2 separate regions of the Homo sapiens genome follow, and region 2 is linked to region 1. Evidence: promoter capture Hi-C in 16 types of primary human blood cells and fetal thymus (Javierre and others, 2016). All regions are on one chromosome and are shown on one strand. Each heading gives the region's core, a stretch centred on a gene start or on the middle of the fragment in contact. The rest is flanking DNA. Distances are from core to core; before and after follow the strand shown.

Evidence for each region. The method cuts DNA at HindIII sites, captures the fragments that hold promoters and counts their contacts. A CHiCAGO score of 5 or more calls a contact.
Region 2: a contact is called between a fragment that was not itself captured here and the fragment with the promoter of ADAMTS19 in region 1, in 3 of 17 cell types (megakaryocytes, total CD4 T cells and erythroblasts). The highest score is 7.4, in megakaryocytes.

What each region holds. Positions count from the first base shown.
Region 1 is chr5:129,458,979-129,461,634 of GRCh38, forward strand. It overlaps ADAMTS19 (ADAM metallopeptidase with thrombospondin type 1 motif 19), which reads left to right and starts at 1,320. Exons shown (of 23, transcript NM_133638.6): 1 at 1,320-1,504; 2 at 2,124-2,656. The coding sequence starts at 1,414. ADAMTS19-AS1 (ADAMTS19 antisense RNA 1) reads right to left here and starts at 1,711. Exons shown (of 2, transcript NR_125748.1): 1 at 1,447-1,711; 2 at 581-1,101. RefSeq lists an enhancer at 279-1,241. The HindIII fragment of the contact is 6,646 bases long and covers 1-2,656 here.
Region 2 is chr5:128,903,976-128,906,631 of GRCh38, forward strand. The region is part of intron 6 of LOC105379168 (a long non-coding RNA gene); the gene reads left to right. Among named protein-coding and RNA genes, the nearest start is that of SLC27A6, 60 kb to the right of the region's middle. The HindIII fragment of the contact is 231 bases long and covers 1,238-1,468 here.

The DNA of each region.
Region 1 (2,656 bases), core at 70-2,569:
TGGAAAGGGGAGTAGGTACCATGAAGAGAATTGCAACAAAGGAAAAAAAAATATATGGGGTTGAATTGCCCCAAAGAGGACAGAAACAGCAAAAACATATTTTTTTATGTACAAGTAAAAAGTACAGAAGACAAAATAATCTCACCTGGTCTGAGATCTTTAGAATATAATGTTTAATGTTGATTCCCTTACTCTTACTCCTTTTAGGACTCGTGTGTGTGTGTGTGTGTGTGTGTGTGTGTGTGTGTGTGTAATGGGGTGGGGTAGGGGAAGGAGAGAAACTGATAGTACTGATGAATGGGGAGCTAGAAAGACAAGGAAGGAAAAGAGGCTCTGAAACCTAAGGGTGCCTACTGTCCTGGGAAACTTTAAAGCATATTCCATGACGAATTACATTATCTCCGGGCTTAGAAAATTCCGAAAAAGATGGGAAGACAAATCAAAGGCCTTTGATAAATGAGGCCTCAGTTTTGTGGTCAAGTCTGCACTAATTTTTGCCTTGTGTGATGTGCGAATTTGACAAAAAGAGGCGCTGGATTGAGGAGTGGGATGGGAAGGGGGAGGCACCTCTACCTGCACACGGGGGCAGGGGATGGATGCAAATCAGGCCTTCCCGAGTGGCCAATCAATAGTCAGGTGAGGGATTTTGGGTCCCCACCCCATCCCAACCGGCGTTTGAGCACGTGCACGGTGTTCTGGGACCTTTGTCCCGCAAAGTCACGCTTGGCGGGCACCCCTTGGTCCCTTTTTCTGGTCAGATGTGCTTGATTCTTTTCTGCTCTACAACCCACCTCTCTAGTCGTGTCTTCCCATCTCCCTACTCATTCCCTCCCGCGCCGCTGCGGGTGAGAGCCTTCAGCGGTGCGTCCTAAGGAGCGTGAGGAGTGTGCGGAGCTTGGCACACCAAGTTGCTGAGACTGTGACACCAGCCTCCGCCCGTTCCGCGCGGGTGCAGGCGGCGAGCCTCGGCTCGGACACCACAGCTCTCCTGCCCGCGCCGGGCAGTCCTCTGCCTGTCCAGAGGCAGCACTCCCGGCTCTCGGCTGGCTGTGGGTCTGTCTTGTGGGGCTCCAGCACTAGCCTGCTCGGCCTCGGAAACTCCTGCAGCGTCCAGAACACAGAAAATAGACTCATCTCCTAATTCGCCAGGGAGCTCGAGGGCTGCGGGGCCGCGGGGCTGCCTCCCCCGCTCCTCCCCCAACCCGACCCCACCCCACCCCCGCCAGGGCTTCGGCGGCCTCCCGGAGTCACACAGCCTACCCCCCCACCCCAACACCCCCTCCCCCGGCAGACAAAGGGCCTGGGCAAATTCGCCGCCCGGCCTCCTAGCGCTCCGGGGAGGCCGCTGCGCCCCGGAGTGGATCGCGCTGGAGGCGTGCGCCGGGCGAGAAGCCGCGGCCGCGGGAGCGCAGTATGGGGAAGAACCGCGAGATGCGCCTGACTCACATCTGCTGCTGCTGCCTCCTTTACCAGCTGGGGTTCCTGTCGAATGGGATCGTTTCAGGTAAGTTCTTCCGTGACTTTCTCGCTTCCTTTCCAGCCATCCCAGCGGAGACCGCGAACGTACGGGTCGGCAGGGCTGGTGCAACCGGTGCGTGGAGAGCAGGGCTCAGTGGGTAGCAATAAAAATGAGCTTGAGGTGCAGGTTAAGGGGTCAAGTTCGGAAATGAAGCACACTTCTGCCGGCCTCGTTTTAACCGTATGTGGAATAGTTTCCTTCTAATTAGAGCAATAATATTTGCAAAGGTACGTTTACAGCACCTGGAGGAAAATTAGAACGTACCTAAGTTGATAGCAACGCTCTGCTCTAGCATACACTTCAGAAATCGTTTACTCGTGCTGGAGTCTTTGCATCGGTTTTCTTTTCAACAATGAAGTGCGGTCACCAAACTTTGATTCCCCCTCCCCCGCCCCTAATATAATCGTACTTTTACTCTGAAAATGCTGGGGTCTGTAATCTGATCGCAAGGCTTCTGGGGTTGCAGAGTTTCAGGGTCTAGACGGGTGGTCTCCATTGCATTCAACGCGAGCGCCCTGTATCTATGGACTGTGAGCTTGGAAATGTTTGTGCTACTGGAACCGCGGCACTTTAAGCCCCGCACTTCTGTCTGCCCCGCCCGCAGAGCTGCAGTTCGCCCCCGACCGCGAGGAGTGGGAAGTCGTGTTTCCTGCGCTCTGGCGCCGGGAGCCGGTGGACCCGGCTGGCGGCAGCGGGGGCAGCGCGGACCCGGGCTGGGTGCGCGGCGTTGGGGGCGGCGGAAGCGCCCGGGCGCAGGCTGCCGGCAGCTCACGCGAGGTGCGCTCTGTGGCTCCGGTGCCTTTGGAGGAGCCCGTGGAGGGCCGATCAGAGTCCCGGCTCCGGCCCCCGCCGCCGTCGGAGGGTGAGGAGGACGAGGAGCTCGAGTCGCAGGAGCTGCCGCGGGGATCCAGCGGGGCTGCCGCCTTGTCCCCGGGCGCCCCGGCCTCGTGGCAGCCGCCGCCTCCCCCGCAGCCGCCCCCGTCCCCGCCCCCGGCCCAGCATGCCGAGCCGGATGGCGACGAAGTGTTGCTGCGGATCCCGGCCTTCTCTCGGGACCTGTACCTGCTGCTCCGGAGAGACGGCCGCTTCCTGGCGCCGCGCTTCGCAGTGGAACAGCGGCCAAATCCCGGCCCCGGC
Region 2 (2,656 bases), core at 103-2,602, 550 kb before region 1:
TGTAAGATTTATTTCCTACCTAATAGAGTCCTCCCATTCATATGCTACTTTTTGAGATCGAATATTTTAAAAAAGAAACATATAGGGTGCAAGCTGTCTTTTAATAAAGGCCCCCAGAAGGAATCACTCAACACTTATGCTTCCTTTTCATGGGCTAGAACTTAGTCATATAGCCATGTCTAGAAGGCTGGGAAATGCACTCTTCATTCTGGGCACTGAGTGTGCAAGTGAATGTTGGGATTTCTGTTACTTCTAACAGACAAGGAGTGAAGAGTAGATATAGGAGGCCCGCTGGCCATCTCTGCCATAAACACTGAAATCTGTTTAAATTGAAACCAAGGTTAAACAACGGGTAGTTACCATTATAGAACCAAACGTAAATGTAATACCTTTTGACAATATAAAAATACTGTCTAGTAGATGACATAAGATTGGTCTGTAAGATGCACCATGTAGCAATCCATTGCAAAATAAAAATGATGAGGCCGTGTGTGGTAGCTTATGCCTGTAATCCCAGCACTTTGGGAGACCAAGGTGGGAGGATCACTTGAGGCCAGAAGTTCAAGACCAGCCTGGTCAACACAGAGAGACCTCATCTCCTGGACAACATAGAGAGACCTCATCACCACATACACACATATATTTTTTTTTAAATTTTTTTTGTTATACTTTAAGTTCTGGGATACATGTGCAGAATGTGCAGGTTTGTTACATAGGTATACATGTGCCATGGTGGTCTGCTGCGCCCATCAACCCATCATCTACATTAGGTATTTCTCCTAATGCTATCCCTCCCCTAGCCCCCCACTGCCCGACAGGCCCCAGTGACACACACAATATTTTAAAGTGGTGGATCTGGGGTCAGGTGTGAGCAGGAACACAGAGCGCTATATAGATGAGTAGACTTAACTTAAATGTCTTGCTTTGTATGTTGAACTAAGGGAAAATTATGTGAATCTGAAGGAATGACTCTGTAAGATGGTTCAAGTAAACAAGGAGTCTTGCACAATTTTGACCTCTTGATGGCTTCTCCCAGACTTTTGGTTTGCTGGCCAACTTTTCTTTCAGATGGAGGCAAAGGTTAAATCTGTGACTAGGTGTTACCATAAAGCAATCTCTCAAACATTTTTTCTCTTAAGACAAATGTGTCATAATGACATACCATAGGAGATGTTCTTTAACACTCCAGGAGACAAGGGAGTTACTTTCCAAGATAGATTAATTCGCTTTCTTGGGAAGCTTCCCCTCAGGAATCCTATTCTTCCAAGTACACTGCTCATAATTACCCAGGCAACCAGTCCATTCAAGTCATGTAGGGCTAAATAGTACAAAAGTGGACTGGGGAAGAGTGAAAACTATCATTGTGTATCTTGTATAACATATAGAAAGCAATTAAACAAGAATGAAAGACAAGATCTGCCTAAGTAGAGAAAGAGGTTGAGTTGGGTATTACACGATATTGAGATTAAGCTTAAAATTATGTATTGTGCATTGTGAAAAAAATTTATGTATTGTGAAGTAATTTTTAAACAGTCAAGCTGATAAAGTCTTTATTTTCATAATTTACACTTTTAAGTTGCTTTATACAATGTTAATTTAATTCAAAGGTATTTAATCTTAAAGATCAGTTATAAAGCATACTTTTCTCTCCCAGGACACAGATGTGGTCAACTAAGAACGTGGGTAGTAGTCATTAATACAGTCAAATAATAACACTTTTCTCCTGTACCACAAGATGGCAGCACATGCAAGGGTGCCTATTTACAGTAATCATTTGTGTATAGTTTTAATGTCTCTGGGTTTTGGATGATTTAAAGGGTAGCCTTCTACCTTCTAGAATATAAGTAGTTTATATTATTGCTTTTTTGTTGTTGCTTATTATTATTGCTTATTTTGTTGTTGTTCATCTTCTTAAGTTCAAGAGCAACACGTATTTTTCCCTCTATAATATCAGATCAAAATTTGTTCTTTTACAAATTAAGCTACCTGGTCGGGGGGGGAAAAAACCTATTTACTTTTAGGCCCATGAGAGGATATATCCTTCCTCACAAATGTTATTTGACCTCTCTTTCGATTTAGACTCACAAGAGAAATAATCTCAAATTGCTGTTCCCTCTATAAAGTTCTTCCCCTAGATTTCACATTGCTTTTTCAAGTTTCATAGGTATCTGCTCAATTCATTTCTATGAAGACCTCCATGATTGCCCTGTAAAAAAAAAAAAAAAGACATCATAACACCATTTGTACCTCTAGTATTCCTCTCCCTCCCTGATTCTAATTTATTATTGTCAACCAATCTACCATACCTTTACTTATTTATTTGTTTATTGTTCTCCCCTAGTAATATGTAAGCTTTGCAAGAGAAAGGATTTTGTCAGGCTTGTTCATGGTTGTATCCCCAACTTCCAGAATAGTGCCTGCACTTGGTGGGTATTCACTAAACATGTGTTGAAAGTATGTATTGCCATAAAGGTTGGAACAATTGAAATAATTGTAGCAAGATGGTAGGTGTATTTAAACAGAACAAGTGTCATAAATAAAAGAGCTCTAACCTAAGGATGGAGAGGTAGAAGTTCTCATTCCTGTTCTACGCGACTACTAAGGACCCTCATGCTGCCATTCAAACTTCGTGGTATTTGGGTTCTATTTAGTCAAT